7 separate regions of the Homo sapiens genome follow, and regions 1, 3, 4, 5, 6 and 7 are each linked to region 2. Evidence: promoter capture Hi-C in 16 types of primary human blood cells and fetal thymus (Javierre and others, 2016). All regions are on one chromosome and are shown on one strand. The core of a region is centred on a gene start or on the middle of the fragment in contact, and the rest is flanking DNA. Distances in the headings are between cores, read along the strand shown.

What was found. Contacts are between HindIII fragments. The CHiCAGO score rates a contact against its expected background, and 5 or more counts as called.
Region 1: a fragment that was not itself captured here is called in contact with the fragment with the promoter of TENT5A in region 2 in 2 of 17 cell types (neutrophils and total CD4 T cells); the score reaches 8.9 in neutrophils.
Region 3: a contact is called between a fragment that was not itself captured here and the fragment with the promoter of TENT5A in region 2, in 4 of 17 cell types (fetal thymus, naive CD4 T cells, naive CD8 T cells and 1 more). The highest score is 7.9, in fetal thymus.
Region 4: a contact is called between a fragment that was not itself captured here and the fragment with the promoter of TENT5A in region 2, in 12 of 17 cell types (naive CD4 T cells, total CD4 T cells, naive B cells and 9 more). The highest score is 15.9, in naive CD4 T cells.
Region 5: a fragment that was not itself captured here is called in contact with the fragment with the promoter of TENT5A in region 2 in 6 of 17 cell types (fetal thymus, naive CD8 T cells, neutrophils and 3 more); the score reaches 9.9 in fetal thymus.
Region 6: a contact is called between a fragment that was not itself captured here and the fragment with the promoter of TENT5A in region 2, in 5 of 17 cell types (total CD8 T cells, naive CD8 T cells, total CD4 T cells and 2 more). The highest score is 7.7, in total CD8 T cells.
Region 7: a contact is called between a fragment that was not itself captured here and the fragment with the promoter of TENT5A in region 2, in 12 of 17 cell types (naive CD4 T cells, total B cells, neutrophils and 9 more). The highest score is 23.1, in naive CD4 T cells.

The regions. Positions count from the first base shown.
Region 1 is chr6:80,080,020-80,083,720 of GRCh38, forward strand. No RefSeq gene overlaps it. Among named protein-coding and RNA genes, the nearest start is that of BCKDHB, 25 kb to the right of the region's middle. The HindIII fragment of the contact is 6,761 bases long and covers 1-3,701 here.
Region 2 is chr6:81,750,890-81,754,537 of GRCh38, forward strand. TENT5A (terminal nucleotidyltransferase 5A) reads right to left here and starts at 1,792. Exons shown (of 3, transcript NM_017633.3): 1 at 1,542-1,792; 2 at 701-1,289. The coding sequence starts at 1,252. RefSeq lists enhancers at 1,453-1,953, 2,814-2,863 and a silencer at 1,864-1,993. The HindIII fragment of the contact is 5,877 bases long and covers 1-3,648 here.
Region 3 is chr6:79,969,677-79,973,628 of GRCh38, forward strand. All of the region lies in intron 1 of LOC124901351 (a long non-coding RNA gene), which reads left to right. Among named protein-coding and RNA genes, the nearest start is that of ELOVL4, 24 kb to the left of the region's middle. The HindIII fragment of the contact is 8,436 bases long and covers 1-3,952 here.
Region 4 is chr6:80,009,429-80,013,011 of GRCh38, forward strand. TTK (TTK protein kinase) reads left to right here. Exons shown (of 22, transcript NM_003318.5): 5 at 1,386-1,529; 6 at 2,006-2,120; 7 at 2,301-2,373; 8 at 2,458-2,552. Among named protein-coding and RNA genes, the nearest start is that of TTK, 6.6 kb to the left of the region's middle. The HindIII fragment of the contact is 2,315 bases long and covers 483-2,797 here.
Region 5 is chr6:79,989,111-79,993,209 of GRCh38, forward strand. No RefSeq gene overlaps it. Among named protein-coding and RNA genes, the nearest start is that of TTK, 13 kb to the right of the region's middle. The HindIII fragment of the contact is 8,753 bases long and covers 1-4,099 here.
Region 6 is chr6:80,025,632-80,029,370 of GRCh38, forward strand. TTK (TTK protein kinase) reads left to right here. Exons shown (of 22, transcript NM_003318.5): 12 at 747-883; 13 at 2,254-2,380. Among named protein-coding and RNA genes, the nearest start is that of TTK, 23 kb to the left of the region's middle. The HindIII fragment of the contact is 179 bases long and covers 2,389-2,567 here.
Region 7 is chr6:80,097,434-80,101,083 of GRCh38, forward strand. No RefSeq gene overlaps it. Among named protein-coding and RNA genes, the nearest start is that of BCKDHB, 7.4 kb to the right of the region's middle. The HindIII fragment of the contact is 1,346 bases long and covers 902-2,247 here.

The DNA of each region.
Region 1 (3,701 bases), core at 1,159-3,658, 1.7 Mb before region 2:
CTACTGGGAAATTTTGGGTGTTATTTAATAGTTACAAAGCTGTTTCTAAGAGAAAAGGCTTGAAATCCCATTAGGTAAGTCAATCCAAGTTATTCTTTAGCTGTCTTTAGTCCAAAAACACTTTATCACAAAATAAAACAGTAATAACCATGCATACTAGTGACCCTGAGTCAACAAGAACCTTCCCCCACACACATATAAACAAACACACACACGAATATGTACACATTTATACAAGTTAAGACATGAAAGAAGTATGTGATCCACTTTAAACTATTTCCGTTAATATCAAGTCAAAGAAATTGATGTTTTGATGCATCTTTGGGTAAACATAATGAATGTGAAATTCCTGATTCCTTCTATGTGACCCTCTGAACTGAATGTTTATAAAGCATAATATAAAATATTTTAGTCTAATAAATTCACCTGCACCAATCTATTCAACTTCAAAAACTATTGTCTACTATTCTTTCATCATCTGTACCTCTATCCCCACTCTACCCCTCCTTGATTATTATTATTTATAGTTTTTCTTATATACATTGTATATATACATTGAATGAAATATATACACATACACACACACACACACACTGATAGAAATGTGCAAATCTTAGCAGCACAGTTTTGACTAATGCATATACACACGAAACCCACATACTTTTTTTTTTTTTTGAAACAGGGTCTCACTCTGTCGTCCAGGCTAGAGTGCAGTGGCGTGGTCTCGGCTCACTGCAGCCTCTGCCTCCTGGGTTCAAGGGATTCTCGTGCCTCAGCCTTCTAAGTAGCTGAGACTACAGGCATGCACCACCACACCCGGCTAAGTTTTGTTTTTTTAGTAGAGACAGGGTTTCACCATGTTGCCCAGGCTGGTTTTGAACTCCTGACCTCAAGTGTTCCGCCTGCCTAGGCCTCCCAAAGTGCTGGGATTACAGGCCTGAGCCACCATGCCCAGCCCCACATACTTATTATAATATAGAAGATTTCACCAGAAAGTTCCTTTGTGTTATTTCCTCCATCTCTTGTGGTAGTCAGCCTCTAAGATGGCCTGCAATGATTACCACCTGTTAATATTATGGCCCTGTGTAATGTCTTTCCACATTAAATAATGTTGACCAGGGTAACAATAAGATACTGTGGAAATGATGGACTTTCTCTTTTGTGATTGGTTTATAAAGACATTGCAGATTTCTGGTTTTTTTTTTTTTTTTTTTTTCTCCGTTGCCCAGGCTGGGGTGCAGTGGCATGATCTTGGCTCACTGCAACCTCCAACTCCCAGGTTCAAGCTATTCTCCTGCCTCAGCCTATGGAGTAGCTGGGATTACAGGCATGTGCAACCACACCCGGCTAATTTTTGTATTTGTGGTAGAGACAGGGTTTCGCCATGTTGACCGGGCTGGTCTCGAACTCCTTACCTCAGGTGATCCACCTGCCTCAGCCTCCCAAAGTGCTGGGATTACAGGCACAAGCCACTGTGCCTGGCCACCATTGCAAATTTCTCTAGGGGAAGCCAGCTGCCAAATTGTGAGGGCACTCAAGTAGCTTTATGGAAAGACCCATGTGGCAAGAAACTGAGGCCTGCTGTCAACAGTTAGCAGGGAACCAAGACCTTTTGCCAACAGCCATCTTGGAAGTGAATAAACCAGCCCAAATCAAGTCAAACCTTGAGATGAGTGCAGCCCTGGCCAATATACTGACCTTAGTCTGAGAGATCCTGAACCAGAACCATTGGGCTATACCAGTCCAAAATTTCTAACCCACAGAAATTATTTGATAATAAATTCTTGTTATTTCAAGCTGTTAAATTTGGCGTGTTTGTTATGTAACAACAGATACTACTAAATCCCTGCTATCTCTGCTCTGATTTTTTCCTTATGATTAAATTTGCCTACTTTTGAATGTCATATAAATAGAATCATACTATGTTTTATTAAAAATAAAATTATGTAATTTAATTCTATTCTTAATAGTTTGAGCTTTTCCCTGAAATTTTTCTAATGAAATTTTTTGCTCACTGAATTGCAAAAGAGCAGCAACCAATGGAAAAGCACCTCTTAATTGCCCAGCAATTTCTTATTTGAGTGTGCATATATGTACACTCAAATGTGTATGTGTTTAATTATTTAGACTTTTAAACATATTTTCTTTTTCTTTAAGAGAAACAATTTATTTAAATCTGTAGGAATGACTCTTTTGAGATGTCTCACATAACCTGGTTTCCATGAGGACCTATCTCAGGGCCTTGAACCTAGCAGGTGTTCAGTAAATATACAGTAAATAAATACGTAACTAAATCAATCAGTTATTGCCATCAATTCTGATTGCCTGAGTGAAAGAGGTTCAGACTGTGTGATCCTTCCTACTTGATCTGCATTTTGTCACTCACACTTCCTAAACTTTCACCTATGTTACAAATCCTACAGGTAGGTGTCCAACAGGGCCAGCCTGAGCCTTCTGTAGCAATGAAAAGCAGCTAGGACCGTGTCTTGCATCATTGTGGACTTAAAGCACATACCCTACTTAACACCTGCAGGCTTTGGCTGGTAATTCTGTCCCCAGGAATGTCAAGACTAAGTCACAAAGATGTACAGAAGACAATGCCTCTTTTCTGAATACAATCTCTCTTTTACCAACCTCTCTGAATAATACTGTTACTCGTTTAGGAAAGAATATGTGATGTGTAATTCCAAACATAGAAAAATGTAGATGCATTTTATCTACAGCCAGTATACTGTGTGAAGACTATTCTATAATGAAAATTTTGAAAGAAGACTCTAGTCTGTTGCTTAGATGGTATGGAATTATAGAATCTGGCATTAGCGATGATAACTTCTTGGTAGTCCTTGGGCCATCTTTTCTCACACATTTGGGAGACTAGGTCAAATAGAAATGTTTATATTCAGTTACAGATGAATCATGAATTCAAAACATTGGGAAGATGGGCTTCCATAGTCATTCTTAGAAAGCCAAGTTCACCTTGTTCTCTTGTGCTGATTTTAAAAAATCTTTTTTTTTTAATGTTGTGTGTGTGTCTGTGTGTGTGTGTGTGTGTGTGTGTGTGTGTGTAGAGAGAGAGAGACAATATTTTGCTATGTTGCCCAGGCTAATCTTGAACTCCAGGCCTCAAGTGATCCTTTCAGCCTCTAAAGTGCTTGGATTACAGGTATGAGCCACCACACCCAGCCCTATATCTTTTCAAAAATATGTTTATCTTTCTTTTATTAAACAAAATTTAGGCTTGTAATCTCAGCACTTTTGCAGGCCGAGGCCAGAGGATTGCTTGAGGTCAGGAGTTCGAGAACAGCCTGGGTGACATGGCGAAACCCGGTCTCTACCACAAATACAAAAATTAGCCAGGCGCAGTGGTGCATGCCTGTAATCCCAGCTACTGGGCAGGCTGAGACATGAGAATTGCTTGAACCCAGAAGGCGGAGATTGCAGTGGGCCAAGATTGTTCCACAGCACTCCAGCCTGGGCAGCAAAGTGAGACTGTCTCAGAAAAAAAAAATTATATAGCTAAAAGTGGTTCATACTCACTGAAGCCGTCGCTAGGAGAGTGGAATGCCGAAAGCAGATAACCAAGATGTAAATTCTTAAGACTCCAAATATGATGGGACATGCCAAAAAGACAAAAGAGCCAACTTGAAGGGGTTCCCATTGACTAAATCTGGGACAATTGGAACAAAAAAAAATAATGATGA
Region 2 (3,648 bases), core at 542-3,041:
TCCGCCTGCGGCAATCAATGTTATCAGTATCTTGTGTGTCCCTCCAGGGGCACCCTGCAGTTACAATCAAATATAAACTAAATTATGACATTCCAGGAGCCTGCCTCCTCAGACAATTTTAACTAATCATATAAAACCCGTCTTGAACTAAAGTGGAGGGTGGGGAGGGGGTGCCACTATACCCTTAACATATGAACCAGCACGAAGAACCACCAGATAGACCTTTAACACGTAGTCAGCTGAATGCCGCTGTGAAATCTATTCACCTTTTCCAGTACAATAAAAAACTCATTGACTCACTTCTGCTTCAGGCTGTTATTTTCCCAAAGGCTAGACTCAAATATAATGACTCAAAAATTATTTACATCATTTCATTCTGCCAAGTATCAGAATCTACTCTGGACAAGACTCCAACAGGGAAAGCCAAGAGTTAAAACATAAGGAGAAAGAAGAGAAGAGAGGGCAGAGGAGGACCTGGGAGAAGAGTTGTAGCGCCAAAGCATCAAGTAAACTGAAACACTCAACACCGTCCACGCACGTCAGTTTACTGGTTTAAAAAATCAAAAATCAAAGAAATAACGCGCGCCCAAACTCGTGATGGCCACAGATTCATGGCATTTAACCGATGCCCCTCTGCCCGCTCCCCGTCACACCCGGCCCAGACTGGGTCAGGACCCAAGTGCATCTCGGGTGGTGTTACCTTGAGCGTGAGTGGTGTGATCTTCTCTTTGTTCACCCCCTCGGGTAAGAAGTCCAACAGGCAGTCCAGCACGACGTCCTTCACAGTCTGAAACTCCCCTTCCCCGCGCAGGTCGGCGCAGAAGATGAGGTCCAGGTCCTTGTAGCCCAGGCCGCTGTCCTGGTGCAGGACATGGCTGGCTGCCGAGCCGTTGAGGCGCACGTCGCGGACGCCAATGCGCTTCTCGGCCAGGCGCCGCCGCACCACCTTCACGATCAGGCTCGGCTGCAGCTCGAGCGTGGGGAAGTTGCCGCGCCCGTGAATCGGAATGGTCTCGCTCAGGATGCCGTCCAGCCGCTGCACTTGCTCCCAGTTCAGCACATTGCAGTGCGCCGTAGGGCTTTCGCAATAGTCCAAGCAATGCCCACCGAAGCTGCCGCCACCGCCGAAGTCGCCGCCGCCGAAGTCGCCGCCGCCGAAGTCGCCGCCGCCGAAGTCGCCGCCTAGGGGGATGTAGGGGCTGCAGGCCAGCTCGTCCTCAGACATGGCGAAGTACCCTTCACCCTCCGCCATGTAGTGCCCGCCGAGCGCCACTTGGCCCTGGTCAGTCCTAAAAAGAAAGGGAAAGGAGCGCGGTGAGGACGCGCGGCGGCGGAGAGCACGCGCGGCGGCGGAGAGCAGAGGCCCGCCAGGAAAAGAGCGCCCCCTCCCCCGATAGTTCCCTGACCCCGGGCCTCCTCGGAGACTCCCTCCCCCGGCCCTTACAGTCCCCAGCCGCGCACCGCGCCCCGCAGAGCAGCCCCGCACCAAAAGTATCTCTGATGCATCTGGAAAGCGCAAGCGAGAGTCCCGTCTGTGTCACCTGGAGGCGGCCGCCCCTTCTAGGAGCGCAGCGAGCGAGAGCGAAACCGAGAGGCGGCAACACTTCCAGGAGCTGCGAGCGCGCTCAGACAGCAAATAGCGACTTCGTCTTTCCCAGACCCCTGCCGCCTGCGCTCACCACTCCCTCCCCGCGACCCCTCCTGCGCCGCTGCCACCCCAGCTGCGGTGGTCCCGAACTGGCGGCTCTTGCTGCCACACACGCTCGTGTCTCTGGAGCTTTAGCAGTTGTGCGGGGAAAATGTCTTCAGTACTTTTTTTATACCGGGCTTCTCTGCGCTTCCGGGGCCCAGAGCGGCACGTTCGCCACACCCTCCTCATCTGCATAGGGCGCCGCCCCCTCTGCCCTCCCCCGCCCGCAGGGCACGCAGCTGACTAGCCCAGCAGTTAGTGCGGGACGACTGCCGGTGAGCGTGAGGTCCTGGGCTGTATGTGCGGATACTGTGTGCGCCCGTAGATGCGTGTATTTATACATACATTTAATTTATGTACGCCCCCTCCCACAAATCTCTTTTCATTTTCCCCAGGAGGAGACACTTTAAATGCCCCAGGAATCATAAGTGGTCATCAAAACCAGATCACGACTAAAATCCTGCAACTGCAGAAACTTCCCAAAATTCTCGCGGACTCAGCCCGTCTTTAGATCATCACGGTTGGGCTCCGGAGGTTCCTCACGACCGCTCTTTTAAACCTCGGTTTTTAGGTAGACCATTTACTCCATTGATAAACCCGATCCAAGTGTGGACTCATGAGTCCACTCTTGCACGCAAATCAGTCACGGCGCGTGAGTGGGAAGGGCTTGTTGATAACTGGGTTTCGATTCTCGAAACCTCGGGAAGCGCGCCGGGGAGCTCTGGGCGAGCCCGAGAAGGCGCGGGGGCGGCACCACGGGCCTCGGGCGTGCGCGGCTCCTGCGCACGAGTGGCTCCAAGGGGCCAGTACTTCGCGGGGGTCAGGGCGCGTCACGGAGCAGACGCGGGCGAGCAGCCAATGGCCGAGGACTGGGCGGGCCGAGTGGGCGCAGAGAGCGCGCCCGGGGAGTGCGTGCTGCCCCGGAGTCCAGGGAAAGGGCCGCTAGGTGTCCGGTGCCTTTGCTGCGAGTTCTCTGACAAAATTGGAGGCGGCGAAGCGCGTTCCTCGCGGCCCCCTAAAGTTTGGCCATTTTAAGTGCATCATAGTGTCAGTGGAATACGATTTGGTTTTCCACGAGACGTAAAAGTAGGAGTTTCAAGAATAAAATGAATTCTCTCCTCCAGCTTCGGTGACTTCGGCAGAGCTAATTCTACGCACGCTCACTCGCGCCACCACCACTCTTTGCTAGAAAGCTGTGGCCGTCTCTTCGGCAGCTCGCTGCCTCCATCAACTAACCCGGAGCAGCTTTCCCAGCGCCTAGACGCTGCCGGGGGCTGAGGTGGGGCAGAGGGGAGAATGCCAGGGTCACAGAATACTCCCCAAACCCTGCTCAGCCCTGCCCGCCCAGACTGGGAGGAAAAACAGCCCGCACCTCCTAACTGGGGGAGCCCCGGCCTAGTCACTCAAGCTGCGCGGCTCGGGGGTGAGGGGTAGGGTGCGGGGGTGTCACCCGTGGAGCATCCAGCTGCGTGACAACGCCGCCCCCTCCCGGTGCCCTGCCGAGCTGCGTCCCAAAATGGAGAAATCCGACTGTCTCTGTGGCAGAGGCCATCCCCTCAGCGCTGCGCCTAAGCACTGAGGTGCGCCTGGGGACTCTAGGACAACTACCCTGTCCGCATAGGGCCATCGCTTCCTTCAGAGCACACCCATGTGTTCCTCTGACCAGCCATCGGCGCATGAATCTATCTTAACCAGGCATTTTATACATATATATACATATGCATATTCTTGTGTGAGCATGTGTATAGAGAGAGCATTTAGTGACCTGTTACGTGCCAGGCAACAGGCTAAGTGCTGAAGATTTAAGAATGACATTTCACGTAATCTAGAGGGCATAGCACCTAGGTGCATAATTATGGTTCAGTTGCATATGTATTATGAGAGAAGTATATTCTGACGCAATCGCGTGGCGGGCTAACTACATAGGAAACGGAGAGACACCCGAGAAGGTGTCATTT
Region 3 (3,952 bases), core at 328-2,827, 1.8 Mb before region 2:
GCTGGTGAGGTTGCAGAGAAAATGGAATGTTTATACACTGTTAGTTGGAGTGTAAATTAGTTTGACCATTGTGGAAAGCAGTGTGGCAATTCCTCAAAGAGCTAAAAACAGAACTACCATTCAACCCAGCAATCCCAATGCTGAGTATATACCCAAAGGAACGTAAATAATTCTACCATGAAGACACGTGGACACACATGTTCATTACAGCACTATTTACAATAGCAAAGACATGGAATCAACCTAAATGCCCATCAGTGGTAGAATGGGTAAAGAAAATGTGGTACACATATGCTATGGAATACTACACAACCATGAAAAATAACAAGATCATGTTCTTTGCAGGAACGTCGATGGAACTGGAGGCCATCATCCTTAACAAACTATTACAGGAACAGAACTGCATGTTCTCACTTATAAGTGGGAGCTAAATGATGAGAAAACGTGGACACAAAGTGGAGAACAACACACTGGGTTCTACTTGAAGTTGAAGGTGGGAGGAGGGAGAGGAACAGAAAAAAGCAACCAATGGGTACGAGGCTTAGTATTTGGGTTATGAAATGGTCTGTACAGCAAATGATGTGAGTTTGCCTATGTGACAGGCCTTCACATGTACCCCTAAACCTGTAGTAAAAGTTAAAAATAATAAATAAATAATATAAAAATAAGTAAATAAAAATAAAAATTAAAAAGAGCAAGAAAGCCTTGCTAGATTATATGGATGTTTCATTTATATTTCTCTTCCCTTATTCATATGGTCTTCCTATCAGTGGAAACTATGGAGAGTCATCCCTTCCTGCAGCATATGCATAGGACTGCACAAACTAGACTAAAAAACATGATAGTGGGCCTGTGGAGATCAGTTTTACTGTTTCTTCCTGTAAGTCTCATGATAGAATCAATGGAGTAAAGGTACAGCATAATGAGGGCTATAAATCATAATATAAAGAGGATATATAGAAATTTGAAAAATCTGCAAGGTTTCTCCTTTTATATGTGGATTTTGGTTAATCCTGATTCCTTTCTTTAAAAAGAAAAAAGAAAAAAAAAAGATTTGTGGTTGCCAGGGGCTAAAGGGGAGGGGAGAAAGTTGAATATGTGAAGTATAGTGGATTTTGTTTGGGTGGTGATAATATTCTGTATGATACTGTAATGGTGGATAAATAACACTATGCTTTTTTTTTTTTTTGACAGAGTTTTGCTCTGTCACCCAAGCTGGAGTGCTATGGCACAATCTCGGCTCACTGCAACCTCCGCCTCCTGGGTTCAAGCAATTCTCTTCCCTCAGCCTCCTGAGTAGCTGGGACTACAGGCATGCGCCACCACGCCCAGCTTTTGTGTGTGTGTGTGTGTGTGTTTTTAGTAGGAACGGGGTTTCACCATGCTGGTCAGGTTGGTCTTGAACTCCTGACCTCAAATGATCCACCCCCCTCTCCACTTCCCAAAGTGCTGGGATTACAGGCATGAGCCACCGTGCCCTGCCGACACTATGCATTTCTCACAACCCATAGGACTTTACAGCAAAGAGTAAACCTTAATGTATGCAAAATTTCCAAAATTATTTTGGAATTTGGAGGGTTCCAGGATGAAATATAGACTGTGACAATATAATCTAATTGTATTTCAAAATGTATAGAACAACCTCACTGAAAGGTGTTGGGATAAAATTTGCTGACCTAAGTCCATTTGAAAATGAGTAATCTGTAAGACTAAAAGAGAAAGGAACAGCACATAGGTAATGTACTGTAGTTGATATAGTTATTTCCCACAGTGTTATGAGTCAACAATTCTGATACTTCTGTGTATGTGTACTAGAATTGAACAATTAAGTAAATGAATGGCAAATAGTGGAAGCCAGGTTTCTTACTATTAAAGTGTAAATTTAAAGGTAAGCAAAGGGAGGAGGCTAGGATGATCCCTATTGTAGTAGATTAGAGTTGGACACACCAACATAAACTCCCGTTTGGCTTAATATAGATGCAAAGAGTTTTACATGTAGATGTTTACAGATGTTCCTGAACTTTGATATTCAGATAATCCCATCATAAATTAAAAATATTGTAAGTCAAAAGTGCATTTTCGACTAAGGTATTTTCAGCTTATAATGGGTTTATCCAGATATAGCCCCACTGTAAGTTGGGGAGCATACTGAATGTGCATGATTTTTTGCACCATGATATAGTTAAAAAATCATCATAAGTCAGGGACTGTCTGTAAATACACAGGTCAGTATACACACATGTATTCCTTTGCCCTGTCAGCTGAGAGGGCTAAGAGTAAATGATACTCTACAGGCAACAAGCACACGTCGCATCCAGATTTTGGTGTTTTTTTGTTTTTTTGTTTTTTTTTTTGAGACAGAGTCTCGCTCTGTCTCCCAGGCTGGAGTGCAGTAGCGTGATCTCTGCTCACTGCAAGCTCCGCCTCCCGGGTTCACGGCATTCTCCTGCCTCAGCCTCCTAAGTATCTGGGACTACAGGCGCCCGCCACCATACCTGGCTAATTTTTTTTGTATTTTTTAGTAGAGACGGGGTTTCACCGTGTTAGCGAGGATGGTCTCGATCTCCTGACCTCGTGATCCGCCCTCCTCGGCCTCCCAAAGTGCTGGGATTACAGGCGTGAGCCACCGCGCCCGGCCCAGATTTTGGTTTTTAATACCATTTTCCAATCTAAGTAACCAGAAATCCTTGAAAAAATAACTAGCTCTAGGACTGGGGCAGGACATGTGTAAGAAGAGCCTGGTATAACTTTCTGTAGTTATGCCAGAAAGTAAGGAAGTACTCAGAGAAACCCCCCCCCCCAATTTTATGGATATGGCAAAGGGATACCGCAACCAAAGCCTAAAGCTGAAACATTTTGAGTAGCAAATTAAGGTAGTATTGCACTGTAGCCCAAAATGTAAAACAAATAGCCATGAACCAAAAAAGGGAGGGAGGGAGCGAGGTGGGGAGGGGAGAAGAAAGAAAGAAGAGATAAATTTCCCTTGCCAAAGAATTCAAAATAATTTATGTAGATACTCCACCTTCAAGGAAGTGGAACATAACACCCCATTCCTTAAATGTAGGCTGCACCCAGTGACTTCTTCCCAAAAAGTGCAGTATGAAAAGAGGGAAAGAAGAGTATCTTTAAAATGGATACACCTGACAAATACTACCTCAATCACATGATCAAGGTCAACATCAACAGTGATAAAAAATGTTGATAGTATGTACCCTTAATATGATTTGATGAAAATAACAGTTTACCTCTGTGGTCTTTCTTCCCCAAATCCACAACCCCAGTCTAATCATGTGAAAACATCAGACAAGTTCCCAAAACATTCTACAAATGTATAATTAATACTCCTAAAAATGATAAAGGTCATCCAAAACAAAGAAAGTCTGAGAAACTGTCATAGCCAAGAGGAGCCTAAGGAAACATGAAAACTAAAATAATATAGTTAGTATTCTGGAGGGGATCCTGGAAACGAAAGGAACATTAGGTAAAATCTATGGAAATTTGAATAAAGTACAGACTCAATATTGGTTCAACAATTGTGACAAATGTACCATCCTAATGTAAGATGGTAATAATAGGGGAAAATGTGTGTGAGGTATATGAGAACTCTTTTATCTTTGCAATTTCTATTTAAATCCAAAACTGTTCTAAAAATGAAGATTATTTTTAAAATCATAAATAATAAATTAAAAGTGAAAAAATAGTTATAACCTTTTGCAGTAATTTCAATTCTGGGAATTTATCTTGAAGATAAATAACTACTATACATTTTACTGTAAAGTAGGTTTAATATATATCTTATTATAAAGTAGGTTTATTAATAGCACCTACAGCATACACATGTTGTAAGGCCTTAAATGAGGTCAGCCATATAAAGTAGTATGAGTACTCAATAAATATTGGTTGCTAGTGTTTTTGTTATTATTCAAAGCTGACTCCGATTCAGGCACAATCA
Region 4 (3,583 bases), core at 390-2,889, 1.7 Mb before region 2:
ATCAGGTTACTTTTTAGAACTATTATCCCTTTCTTCTCTAGAAAAATGGATTCCTCCTTGCTTGTTAGAGAAAATTTGGCAAGGCTTCTTTCTCTCCATTCTGCTTGAAAATTTCTTGAGGTATTGTGGCCTCTCAATAACAACCATAAATTTTACATGTTTAGAACATGTAAATATTGAAACTCTTAAATTGAGTTATCTGTAAAAAAGACGAACTTTATCTATACCACTTTATCTGCAATGTGGTAGTAATGCACAGTGATGCAATGTGGTCAAATGCATTGCACAGTAATGCAGTGTGGTCAAATTATGATTATTTTGAGCACAGTTGATGGCTTGGCTGTCAGGAAATAATGCAGCATCCCTGAAGTCCTATGCAGAGTCTGGTGTGTGAGTATTTTTATAGGGATGGAGGACATTTCAGTTTTTACCAGATTCTTAAAGAAATCTCTGATCTCAATACTAAGCTATCTGATTAATTAAGCTTCTTAAGCCTTTCTCTCTTTTCTTGTGCTAAAATACACAATACATGAAATTCTACCACTACTTAGTAAATGTAGATGTAAGCACTATCAAAGATATTTTTAAAAATTTATAAACTACCAGAAGCTAGAGATCATCTCTTAAGCATTTTTATACGCTAAGTACCAAGTGCATAGCATAGCTCAATGGCTCCCATAAATGTTGATAATATTCTGTAAGATATGTGATGTATACATTTAATATTTATATGTCAAATGCTAGGGGTAAGTTTACCAATTTTTTTGGTAATCTGTCCATACTCAGAAAGGTAATTATGATAGTTCCTCAGTTATTCTGCATTCTTTTTCAGGCTGGTATAGCTGAGTGTGACAGCTAAAGATTAATCTGTATTTATTATGTTTTTCCCCGAAAATCCTTTTGATGGAAGATGCTCTTTAACAAAAGATGTCATCCTTCCCTTAACTAAATGTCATTATGAATGATACTTATTATAGCATGTTGTAAGAGACTGATGCTCTTGGCACTTTTGTAACATCTAGAATGCCCTCCTGTTTCTAACTGTTGTGATTGGCCTTTGCTGTCCCCTGTTGGTAACTGCTTTGTTACACTTCTGTTACTTCTGAAAGTGGACAGTGGTGATAAACTAATGCAAAATTACGTCAGCTACATATTGCAAGGAAACTATTTGGTATGCATTGTTATCAGAAGAGAGTTGGTTATCTGCATAAAAAGTGAGAGATTGCTTACTTGCCTATGAAATAAAATACATGAGCCTTGGAATAAATATTTTTGCTTAAGTCTTTTTGATTTTTTTTTCTAGGTCCTGATGAATACGTATCTGGGTGGTCTGGGTGGTGGGCATTTTACTGCCTAAAAATGACAATTATCTTTTGCTTTGTTAGGTAATGTCAAAAAAAGTAAACAACTTCTTCAAAAAGCTGTAGAACGTGGAGCAGTACCACTAGAAATGCTGGAAATTGCCCTGCGGAATTTAAACCTCCAAAAAAAGCAGCTGCTTTCAGAGGAGGAAAAGAAGAATTTATCAGGTAACTATTAAGGTATACTAATACTTTCTGTGGTAGGTAGTACTTCAAATAAAGATTCGGGATAATAATTTATAGAAAAATATTATTTATGTAGAATGGTTAAAATCTAAGATTAAATTGTAAAGGAGGTAAGACTGAGAAGTAAAAAAGTCTCTACAACCCCATGCAAATTTGTCTTTTTTGCTAACTAAACTTTCGTTAACACATGAAAAACAACTCTAAGCAAGAGAATTTTTTTTTTTTTGCTTTTGGAAATAGAGAATGTGCTTTTACCCTGGGGAAATAGTTATATAATTTAAGAGAATTTGAAGAAGTAGTTAGATAATTATCTTGGTATCATCTTCATGTCTGCATATCTTACTTGGGGACAAGTATTTCCTATGAATTGACTTTTAAAATATTCTTATTTGTAAGATCACTTTTTTGTACTTGTCTTATTTCTTATAAATTTAATCATAGTTTCAAAATTTTTACAGCATCTACGGTATTAACTGCCCAAGAATCATTTTCCGGTTCACTTGGGCATTTACAGAATAGGAACAACAGTTGTGATTCCAGAGGACAGACTACTAAAGCCAGGTTTTTATATGGGTAAGGAAACGGAAACAGTTTTTAAATGTTCATCTTCTATGTAAGTACATCTGTGTTTTTTAATGTAATTACATGTATCTGCATATATGTTTTCATGTGTGTGATAATGTTTAGCAGTAGAGTAGAAATACATATTAATATTGTTCTTTGAAAAATTGGGGGTATTTTCTTTCTGTTTAGAGAGAACATGCCACCACAAGATGCAGAAATAGGTTACCGGAATTCATTGAGACAAACTAACAAAACTAAACAGGTAAGTTACTTTCAATCTGCTTGATTAAGGTGGTGATAGTCTTTATTTCCTAGTTGGTTATTTAATCTTTCAAAATATTTTTAGTCATGCCCATTTGGAAGAGTCCCAGTTAACCTTCTAAATAGCCCAGATTGTGATGTGAAGACAGATGATTCAGTTGTACCTTGTTTTATGAAAAGGTATGTTGAGTTTTAATTTTTAAAATTTGTTGTCCGTATGGGAAGATTAATGGCAGAATGGTCTTAAAGTCTTTTACTGAGTAATAGTAATTATGATTAAATTTTTATTCAGTTTTAGAAGATAATCTCTAAATGTTGTCAGGAACAAAGGAATGAGTGGAGAAAATAACTTTGTTTTGCTTTTTCACTCATTAAAAATATTCATTAAAGGAGCTTTAAAAGGAAAAAATATTAAGTCAACATTAAGCTTAAAAGACTGATATTTGAGGATTTGTCACTTACGGGTAGGCTGTCTGCTAAGAATCTCTTCCTGTTTTGTTTGAGAGTCTCCATAACGGGTAGAAGGAGGTCTGGGAACAAATATTTGCTCCAGATAGTTCAAGGGGAGAATCGCTGTCAGTGGGATAGATGATTATTCTTTTGCTTGAGTCTAGTGCTTCAAGAAGTGGGACAGGTTAGGTACAGATGAATTACTGTTCATCACATCCAGTGTGTTCTCCTTCCCTCAATTTGCTTGTTTATTCCCTGTTAAGAAATGGGAATGTAGCCTGTAGCTCAGCTAAAGGAGAGTTATTTTGGCCTATTCTTAATTCTGACCAACATTTGTAATATTTATATTGGAAAAGGCTCCTTACAGTCCAGAGAATCATTTTGCAAATAAACTTTAGAAATACGATTGTTTTTCATTACTATCTTTTATAATTACATTTCTATTATATTTAGACTTGACTAAATATTGACATTAAAAGAACATTTTGTTTGTCAAGGTTAAGCTTTAAAGTCTTATCACTATGATTTCATCTTGTTCATCTCTATTTCAAATACCTAGCTCAAGAATAAAGGAGATTTTCTTCCGCTCCAAAAAATTAAAAACAAAAACAGAAAAACTGCAGCCATTTTCTTGGTTCCTGTTATCGATAGACAATGCTAGGTACTGTGGAGGTCCACAGAAGTGCTATACCCTGGTTCTTATCCTTTAGCTATTTGTAATTGGAAATGTAGTTTCATCTGTATACTTTGCCTTTCCCACA
Region 5 (4,099 bases), core at 438-2,937, 1.8 Mb before region 2:
TAGGTATTTACTCAAGAGAAGAGGAAACATAGTCCTTAAAATAATTTATATGAATGTTCTTAACAGCTTTACTTGTAATCACACCAAACTGAAAACAATCCAAGTGTGCATCAACAGGTAAAGAGTACATAGATGAACAGATCATGATATAACCATAAAGTGGAATACTACATAGCAATACAATGGAATGGACTATTTGTACATGCAACACCATCAATGAATCTCAAAATAATTATGCTGAGTGAAAGAGCCATATGAAAAAGAATACATATTACATGATTCCGTTTATATGAAATTATAGGAAATATAAGCTAAGGTATACTAACAGCAGCCTAGTGGCTCCCTGGAGGCACAAGGGAGAAGATTGTTTGGGAGGGAGAGATAAGAAAAGGACACAAAGAAACATTTTTGAGGGGATGATGGATATGTTCACTATCTTGATTGTGGTTTTAGTTTTATGGCTGTATACATACGTCAAAACTTATCAAATTGTTCAATTTAAATATGTATAGTTTGCTGTATACAATGCCTGAATAAAACTATTTTTAAATTGTGCATAACTTATATATTTATTTTTTCCTCCAAAAAGATACTATTAAATTGACATACATTATTAAGGAACAAACATCATATAACCTAAAACATATGGCTTATAACTTCAACCACAATAACCAGCCTAGTCAGTCCTTTACACACTGCCCTTCTGTTCTCCTTACCCTACCACATGTGCACATAATGCAAAATTCTGTACTTCTTTGTTTCAACCCAACATGCTAGAAAAAAGACTATAAAACTCTGAGCGATGGTTTCCATTGGTGACTCTCCCCCATTGCATCCCCAGCTATAGGTTTTGGTGTGTCAGTCCTGACAGTCTGAAGGTGTTTACAAAATATCTTTGTGATAGTATTCAGTCCTTCATACAGTTCATGGCACAAGGAACTCCAGAAAAGTAGTGACTTGGCCAAGAACTACAGTGAGAAACTAAGTATCTGACCTCTAGGCCTTGGATCTTTTTCTAAGATCCAGAGTCAAGTGTGCAGAGACAGTGTAATGAGGGAACCTAACCTAGTACATCTTCTCTGAGGAAAAGATCTGAAACAGAGACTTGTTGAAGAACAAAGGGAACTAGAGGGCACTGGAGAATGAGGAAGATTATCCCAGGTGGAAGGAACTGTGTATAGAAAAGATGCCTGTTGGAGGAACCAGAAGTCCAGTGTAGCTACAGCATATGTGCTAAAACACAGTGAATAGCCTTGGAAGACTGCTGTAAAATGTAGCTCAAGAGGGAGGTAAGGACCAGATCATATAGCCTCATAGCCTGAATTAAGAATATCATGCTTAAAGAATAGGAAACCACCAAAGACTTTGTCTGATTTATCCCTTTTAAAAGATAATTTGAAAGCAAATAAGAGTAAATGTGAAAAGACAAATTGGAGAAGCATTGCTATCATTCTTGTTAGGAAGAGATTATGATGGCTTCATCAGAGTAATTACAGAGAAAAGGAGAAATGTATGTGGAGTCAAGGAACATAGGAAAATAAATTAAAATAACTCAGTATTAATTTAGGACCTCTCAAAAAGGGAGGAGTTTTGCGGATAGCATTAAAATCAGGACCAGAGGAGTACTTTTGAATTGTTTCCTTTTCAGGTTTGTTAGATTTCTGGTACATTCTTGGCCCATGCACAACATCTGCATAGTGCTTATCTATACATCTGCATAGTAGCTAATAAATATTATTTAGGAACAGTCAGCTCTCAGACACTAGACTTATTCTATTACTCTCCCTAGACATCCCTTGTTATAGACTGAATGTGTCTCCCCAAAATTCATATGTTGAAGCCCTAATCCCAATGTGCCTGTGTTTGGAGTTAAGACCTATAAGGAGGAAATTAAGACTAAATGAGGTCATAAGGATGGGGTGCTGGACAAAAGGACTAGTGATCTTACAAGAAGAAGAAGAGGCACCAGAGACATCTCTCACTTTCCACTGTGACACAGAAAGAGAAGGACTCATGAGGACATGGAAAGACTGGGAGGCTGAGGCAGGCAGATCACTTGAGGTCAGGAGTTCGAGACCAGCCTGACTAACATGGTGAAACCCCGTCTCTACTAAAAATACAAAAATTAGCAGGGTGTGGTGGCACGTGTCCGTAATCCCAGCTCCTTGGGAGGCTGAGGCAGGAGAATGGCTTGAACCCGGGAGGCGGAGGTTGCAGTAAGCCAAGATTGCGCCACTGCACTCTAGCTTGGGCAACAAGAGTGAAACTCCTCCTAAAAAAAAAAAAAAAAAAAAAAGATAGAAAAGAAAAGAAAGAAAGAGAAAGAAAAAGAAAGAAAGAAAAGAAAGAAAGAAAAAGAAAGAAAGAAAGAGAAAGAAAGAAAGAAAGAAAAAAGAAAGAAAGAAAGTTAGTTGCCATCTGCAGGCCAAGGAGAAAGGCCTTACCAAAAACTGGCCCTGCTGGCACCTTGACCTTGGGTTTCCAGCCTCCAGAACTGTGTGAAAATAAATTTCTGTTTTTTAAGCCACCCAGTCTGTAATATTTTGTTACGGTAGCTTGAGCTGACTAATACATATCTTTACCCCAAAGACATTTCTTCCCATGTCTATTTGGTTCATCTGAAATTTTGATTAGTCTAGGTAAACTAAGAAGGGTGATATAGGTTGAATGTCTGTCCTCTCCAAATCTCATGCTGAAATGTAATTCCCAATATTGGAGGTGAGGCATAGTGGGAAGTATTGGATCATGGGGGTGATCCTACATAAATGGCTTAGTGTCATACCCCTGGTGATGAGTGAGTTCTCGCTCAGTTAGTTCATGTGAGATCAGCTGTTTAAAAAGAGTCTGGAACCTCCCCCTTCTCTTGCTTATGCTCTTGCCATGTGACATGCTGGCTCCCCATCACCTTCTGCCATGATTGGAAATTTCCTGAGGCCCTCAGCAGAAACCGAGCAGATGCTGGCACCATGCTTTTCATGCAGCCTGCAGAACCATGAGCCAATTAAACCTCTTTCTTCTTTCTTTTATGTTGTTGTTGTTGTTGTTGAGACGAAGTCTTTCTCTGTCGCTCAGAATGCCACTTGGCATGATCTCGGCTAACTGCAACCTCCACCTCTTGGATTCAAGTGATTCTCTTGCCTCAGCCTCCCAAGCAGCCAGGACTACAGGCGTGTGCCACCACACCCTGCTATTTTTTTATTTTTAGTAGAGACGGGGTTTCACCATGTTAGCCAGGCTGGTCTCAAACTCCTGAGCTCAAGAAATCCATCTGCCTTGGCCTCACAAAGTGCTAGGATTACAGGTGTGAGCCACCGTGCCCGGCCCTCTTTTCTTTACAAATTACACAACCTCAAATATTCCTTTATAGCAATGCAAAAACAGCCTAACACAGAAAATTGGTACCAGGAGTGGAGTGTTGCTATAAAAATACCTGAAAATGTGGAAGTGGCTTTGGGACTGGACAACGAGCAGAGAGGTTGGAAGAGTTTGCAGGGCTCAGAAGAAGACACAAAGATGATGGAAAATTTTGAATTCTTAGAGACTGGTTAAATGATTGTGACCAAAATGCTGGTAGAGATAGGGATAGTGAAAACCAGGCTGAGGAGGTCTCAGATGGAAATGAGGAAGTTTTTGGAAACTGGAGTAAAGGTCACCCATGTTATGCCCTAGCAATGAACTTGGCTGCATTGTGTTCATGTCCTAGGGATCTGTGGAAGTTTGAACTTAATAGACTATTTGGCATAAGAAATTTCAAAGCAGCAAAATATTAAAGAGGTCACCGGGCTGCTTCTAGCAATTTATGATCAGGAGCAAATACAAGCAACCACAGGAGCAAAAAACAAGTGACTTAAAGCTGGAAATTACAGTTAAAAGGGAAGCAGAGGCCAGGCATGGTGGCTCACACCTGTAATCCCAGAACTTTGGGAAGCTGAGGAGGGCAGATTGCTTGAGCTCAAGGGTTTGAGAGCAGCCTGGGCAACACAGTGAAACCCCACCTCTACAAAAATACAAAAAAATAGCTGGGCATGGTGGTGCACCTGTGGTCCCATCTATTTAGGAGGCTGAGGCAGCAGGATTGCTTGAGCCCATGAGGAAGTGG
Region 6 (3,739 bases), core at 1,228-3,727, 1.7 Mb before region 2:
CTCTGTTGTAGCTTTTCACCTCTGCCATTAGAGCATGAAAATAAAAGCCATAGACAATATGTAAACAAATTGGCATAGCCATATTCTAATAAAACTTTGTTTACAAAAATAGGCAGGCAGCAGGCCACATTCAGCCTGAGCCTGTAGGCTGTAATTTGCTGATTTCTGCTGCAGCGGATGTTCCTTCATCATTGTTTGGGGTTTGTATAGGATGAATCCTATAGGTTCTTTTTTTTTTTTTTTTCCCAACAATGCTTTTGGAAAAAGAATTTCTACAGGTTCTGTCTCTTCTTATGGAGGACACAAGATAGGCATTTGTCATTCCACATTTTGCTAAGTAATTAGTATTTGTCTACATTTGAGGAGAAGGGAATAGAGTTTTATTGATTAAAGAAAGGCTGATTTTCAGAAACACAGGATACTATTTTAGATGATAAGAATTTAATACTTGTTACAATAGCTCTGATGGAAGAGAATGTTAAATTCTGTTTTAAGTAATTTTGTGTGCCTTCCCTGTACTTGCCATCAGTTTGAGCAGAATGCACTAGGCTTAAGAATTTGGAGTAAAATAACTACACTAAAAAAATTATTGAAAGTCTAAAATGTATATATATGCCTATCTCTTTTAGTATGCCTTTGTATATCATATGTTATTATTTTATTTTAAAAGTTATAATATTTGTAAAAACTAGTGAACAGGCAACTAATTTAAAAACTAAATCATGGTGTTCTTTATTTTGTTTTAGCAGAAACATACCACTTTTGAGCAACCTGTCTTTTCAGTTTCAAAACAGTCACCACCAATATCAACATCTAAATGGTTTGACCCAAAATCTATTTGTAAGACACCAAGCAGCAATACCTTGGATGATTACATGAGCTGGTAATTACTTTGGCCCCTTGCTTGATTGGCAGGGTGGTATGATAGAATTAACATGGGCTTCTGGGCCAAATAAATCTGGGATTAAATCCTGCTCTTTTACTTTAAAGACTTTCCATCTTCATATTATTTTTTCAGCATCAGTGTTTTCATCTATAAAATGGAAAGGGGGAAGTGGTTGCAATAATGCATATTTTTAAGGATTGTTGTGCATGTAGTTTCTGTCATATCGTAATCTGTACCTACAACCTATAAATATTCTAAGGATGTAAAACGTCTTGATAATCATGTATTGCCATACAGATATCTCTCTATTAAGAGAGAGATTTTAAAGGTTAGCATTCTTAGAGCAGATAAAGAGTAGATGAATTTTTTCACATAAGTGGTGTTAATTGGAAAGTGATAGCTTCTGGAAGAGATTGGTTTTTACAGTTCATGTAGTTCTGGAGGTATTCAAAGGTGTAGTATTTGAGTGAATAGGAATGATGGATAAGTGAAGAAGTTCGATGATGAGTGTGCTGATAGGGAACACAAGGGATACTACAAAAGAAAATGAATGACATTTCAGAGAAAGGAAATAAAGGGATGCGATACATTATAACCATCAACCGGTGGCTATATCTTTAATGTCTTAGGGGATAGCTTAAATCCGTGTTGTCTTTTGCGTTTCATTTTCATAATGTAATCCTTGATCTTAATTAGAACTGGTCTTAAAGATTTTATAACCCAGCCTCTTACCTACTTAATATAGTTTTACTATATATTGCCTCATTTTATTATATGTAGAATATTCTAAAGAATGATTGCTAACTAAAATAGCGATAATAGATATTTCTTGTGATACTAGGTTAATTATTGTTAACAAATATTTGTGGAGCTCTTTTGTGCCAAGCATTGTTCTAGGTGTTGAGGATATATTAATAGCAAAAAGGCAAACAAAGCACAAATGTATACTGGACAGATTTAAGCTCAAAGGCCAAACTCCTGTGATGTAATTGGCTTTCTGATATTTCTAGCAAGCCATTATAGAACATTATTGTTTAAAAAAAAACTCAAAATCTATGGCCGGCCACAAGCTGATGTTTGCTAAATTCATATAAAATAACCCTAACCACTTTGTATTTTAAATGCCATCTTTTCAAACAAAGATTTCTTGTCTGCATACAAATATTTACTTTCAGAAAGAATTCCCCAAAATTAAATATCCGGTGGTGGCATATCTGGAATAAGTGTCAGCTATATCATGAAAACTAACTTGGGTTCTGTTTGATGTAACACTTTTAAGTTTATATCAGTCTAAAATACATGAAACTGAATCAGACTTATTTGTTAAATTGTAATGTTTTAAATAAAAATATATATATATTTCCTAGTTTTAGAACTCCAGTTGTAAAGAATGACTTTCCACCTGCTTGTCAGTTGTCAACACCTTATGGCCAACCTGCCTGTTTCCAGCAGCAACAGCATCAAATACTTGCCACTCCACTTCAAAATTTACAGGTTCGATAAGCTTTATATATGATGGTATATGTTAAGATACAGTCCGTTTTACAGCTTTTATTTTTATAGCATCTAGTTATCAAGAAAGGTCTTAAGAACTTGGCCATTCTTATTTCCACTAGACAAAACTTTTCTGATATTCTAATAAGAGTGTGCCTTGTGGCTTTGAGAGGTTGGTTATTGAAGAAGCTTACGAAGCTACTCTTAATAACTAGGCCAAAGGATCCAGTTTGAATAGCTGGATAAAATTTCTCTTATGAATCAAGGTTACCTTTTATTTTTTATTTTTATTTATTTATTTATTTATTTATTTATTTATTTTTTGAGACAGAGTCTCGCTCTATTGCCCAAGCTGGAGTGCAGTGGCGCGATCTCGGGTGACTACAACCTCTGCTTCCCAGGTTCAAGCGATTCTCGTGCCTTAGCCTCCCGAGTAGCTGAGATTACAGGCACGCACCACCACACCTGGCTAATTTTTGTATTTTTACTAGAGACAGGGTTTCACCATGTTGCTCAGGCTGGTCTCAAACTCCTGGCCTCAAACCATCCGCCCGCCTCAGCCCCCCAAAGTTCTGGGGTTACAGGCATGAGCCACTGCGCCTGGCCAGCGTTACTTTTTGTTGTGTTTTGTCAGCTGCTAGTGAGCAGCTTCATTTTGTTTGTTAGTATACAATTCATTTGGAAATGTAAATTTTCAAAAATATCAGAATAGCAATATGAGGTACTGCTAGAATGTATTATACTAATAACTAAACTAAGAGGAAAGATTTTTTGCTGATGAGGCAAAAGTTGGTTTCTAGTAACTGTCCTAGAGGCAGCTTAATACTGGTAGAAAACATGGGCCTTGGAGACACTGGGCATGAATCTTAGCCTCACTACTTACAGTCTGTGTGATCTTTTGCAAGTTACCTAAATTTTCGGTGCCCATTTCATTATCTATAAAATTAGTAAAGCTAACTACCTCCTAGGATGGTTGTGAAGATTAAATTAGTTAATATAGACGTAACTCCTAATACAGAGCATGACACTTAGTAAATCAGAAATGTTAGTAGCAATTGTTATTTAAATAAAACAATAAAAAACCCATGAGTAATTAACTATAAAAATCAACTGATAAAAAAATTAGCTGACAGAATAAGAACAGTGGTTGTCAGGGAAGGGAGGAAGAATGGGGAGTTACTGTTTAATGGGTATAGAGTTTCAGTGGTATTTGCACCACCATCCATCACCAGAACTTTTTCATCATCACATACTGAATGTACTTAATGCCACTGAATTGTACCTAAAAATGGTTAAAGTGGTAAATTTTGCATTATGTATAATTTGCACAGTTTGAAAGAATAATGGACAAAATAATGA
Region 7 (3,650 bases), core at 325-2,824, 1.7 Mb before region 2:
TGTGAGCCAAATGTTGTCTGTTTATTTTTCATTTTCCCATAAATTTTTAGTTTGTAGATGTCTCTGTCCTAACTATGCTGTATATGTAAAATGTGTGTGTTTAATTTGCTCCCCTTTACTCTTTCTTTTTAAAAGAGAGGATATAAGAATATTCAACTTTACCACCATTTTCTACAGAAATTCCTAAGTATATTTAAGTAGTCTTCTAGTGGCAATTTTCCAGTCTATGTTGAAGAATTCAGAGGAAGTACTTTCATAGTGGGTTTTTTTCTTTTCTTTTTTTTAATGACTAGAGGGACCACATGGGTACTTCCTGGGCAGGATAACTATATAGTCATTAGGTCTTTTTTTGGCTTCCAAGCATCAATTCTCCCTTTGGTTGGTAGCAGTCCCTTGAGTTATGTCTGGGAAATCTTTTTTACTTTGTATATAGTCTTGGTCAGTAGGATACCCTACTGTTCCTTAGTCAAGGGATAGTAATGAACTAATCTAAGCTAGTCAGATTCTCTCTCCTAAAAACTGAATCTTGAGCAGAATCACATAAAGACATTGGAGCCAATTCATCCTATGAGTTTTAATATTCTCACACATTTCTAAATTAACTCCTGTTACCTGAATCTCTGGGGCCATCCTGGTTTCTGTTCTTTCTGAGGCTGCTTTTTTTCTTCAATTTTTGTGGGCCATCCTGTATTTTGAAAAGTAATCATAATTCTGTGTAAGTTAGCAAGAAGTGATTTCAGTAGTTGTGACCTAATAACCCTACTTAATAAAAGAGTGAGTGGGGAAAGGTGGTAGCTGTTCTTTTCTGGACAGAGAACACAGTGTATATAAAGGCTGTTTGTTGTTTATAGGGTTTGTGTGATATGTGGACTATTTGTATCAAAGACACTGGATGGGGGAAAGCTTATTAGAAATGCAGATAGTCTACCCTAGGCCTACTGAATAAGAATTTCTCAGCGTGGGGCCTAGAGAATCTAAAATTTGAACAAGTTTCTCAGGGATTACTCTGAGAAATAAATTTGAGAAACACAGCATAAGACCACACATTTTGAAATATGAAAAATACAGACTGGAAAACTTTAAACTGCTTAAACTCAGCTTAGTCAGTTTAATCTCTTTGATCCTGTTTTCTCATCTGTAAAGTGACTGTAGCAAGACCTTGTCATCAAGTTGTTTTAAGAGATTAAAATGTGCATAGAAAAGATTTTGGTGTTTCTTCAGTAGAGGAGAGTTGCATCAGTTTTAAGTGTTTAGATTCCAAAACCTAAGTGCAAGATAAAACTTGTGACTAGCTAAAATTACAGTTGACAACAGTTTAAATCCACAATAATAATGTGTAGCTACATTTATGCATCATGTTGTAGAAAAATGCACTTTTAGTAACTATATTACTGAGAATGTTTCCTGAAGAGTTAGGATATGTTAGAATAGCTGAACACCATGTAAAGTAGGTTTGTGATTAGAAGCCATGTTCTATTTTTAAAAGATAAAAATATACACTGTTAAATTGTTTCTCAGTCATGCTCCAGGTGAAACAAGTATGGAAGAAGGACAGGTGATTCTCCATGTAGTGTCATTCCAGTAACAGCTTATGGATGCTCTAGTTTCTGAAATGTTACTACCTGATGAGGCACAGGAAGAGAACTAGAGAAATGGCTACCAGGTGCTAAATTCTTCCACCCAAGAATGCCCGTCTGTACTTGTGGTCAAATTCATTGACTGGCAAATCAAGACACATTGCTATGCCTGATTTCAGGTGGCTAGGGAAGTTCAATCTACCTGAGTTCCTAAAAGCAGAGGGAATAGAAACATTTGTATCAACACTGTTTTCCACATGGGGTCTGGATATTAGCATGTTTGAAAGCTCCCTAGGTGATCCTAACGTGAAGTCAAGGCGGAGCACCACTGGTCCAGGGCTTACACTGTTTGAAAAAAAAAAGGAAAGAATCAATTGCTCTACTTAAAGTCTCATGTGAATTTGGGTAGGTTAAATGTGTGCATCATGTGACATAGGCTGACTTCTATTTTACCTGTGTTTAGGAGTGGCTTTACATGGTGAGGAAATCAAATTGTCAAGGGTCTTTGGTGGTGACCACTGCCTGTCTGCCCCTTTGCTCTTCTCTCTTTTTCCACACTGGTCACCACCTGGTGTTCCCAATAAAGTTTGTGATGGAGGTAAGGTAAGATATGGGTCTCAAATTTCTTTTGTCCCAATATTCACAATTATGTAAGCCATAGTTTTAATTAAGCTTTGAGAAACCTAGCAGTACTCATAAATTACCTGGGGAAGTTTTAAAAAATCACTACTGCCGGGCTGGTATGTATTTTTACAGATGAGTAGCTCTCTCTAAAACACTGTTATACATACAGGCAGATATTAACATTTGTAGCCGTTTTCTGAGCCATTGATTGTATCTAAATCCTTCCCCTGGGCTGAGCCCAAACTTCCAATAATGTCACTTTTTGATGCCCTTTCTTCAGTGACTGGCTTACACGGCTTCTGTCTACATAGCATGGTTCAAAGTGCTTGGAAGACTGATCACAGTGCATCTCAAGCCCCTGCAGGAGATAAGAAGCCAGAGAGAAGTTGCCAAGATGCCGAGGAAGGGGAAGAAGGAATAACTCACATGCTGGATGGGACAGCTGGCTTAGACCAGGGGTTGGCTTAAAATAATGTTGATTGAAACACTGTCTCTGGCACATGCAAGGCTCTCAGTACACACTAGTGAATAGTAGAATCAGAATTCTTAAAATTAGAAGTACGCTAAACCACCTGTAAATGAAGCATAAATCCTCCCAAGAGGCTCCCTCAATAGTGTTCATCCATTTCGTGCTTGACTATTTCAGTAATAGAGAATTCATTACTTCCCATGACAGTCTACTTAATAAGAAGCTCTTTATATTACACTAGAATTTGCTTCTTCCTGTTTCTTATTCTTCCCTCCGGAGCTAAATAGTAAATTTAACCCCTCTACAAGGGAGCCCATCAAACTTTGAGGGAGAGTTAATACATCACTTTTAAAATCTTATCTAGACCAAATATCTCTAGATTTTTAACCCTTCTCCAAATGACTTTAGGTCATATTTGAAGAAATCCACAAAACACTTTATAAAAACTCTTTAACCATGTAAACATCCTCCTAATAGTTTATCAAAAGCATCCATAGTTTATCAAAAGCATTCATCCAGTTAGCTTCTGTTCCTGCAACCAAGTCTCTGACTGTTATGCCCCTGTCCCCTGAAAGATATGTTGAGCTTGACACTCCCCTACCCCCAAACCCAGTACCTAACCCCTGGCCCTCAGAATTTAAGCTTATTTGGAAATAGGGTCATGGCAGATGTAATTGATTAAGTTAAGATGAGGTTAGATTGGAGCAGTGTGGGCTTCTAATCCAATATGACTGGTGTCCTTATAAAACGATAGCTGTGCAAAGATATGGAGACGGCATGTGGTAACAAACGCACATACTGGATTTATGCAACTGCAAGCCAAGGGATGACAAAGAATTCCAGAGAACCAACAAAAGGGAAAAGAAGAATTTTCCTACAGGTTTCAGAGGGCGCATGGTCCCACTGACACCTTGATCTTGGACTTGATCAGAATCGCAGACAATACGTTCCTGCAACCAGTTTGTGCTGCTTTGTGACAG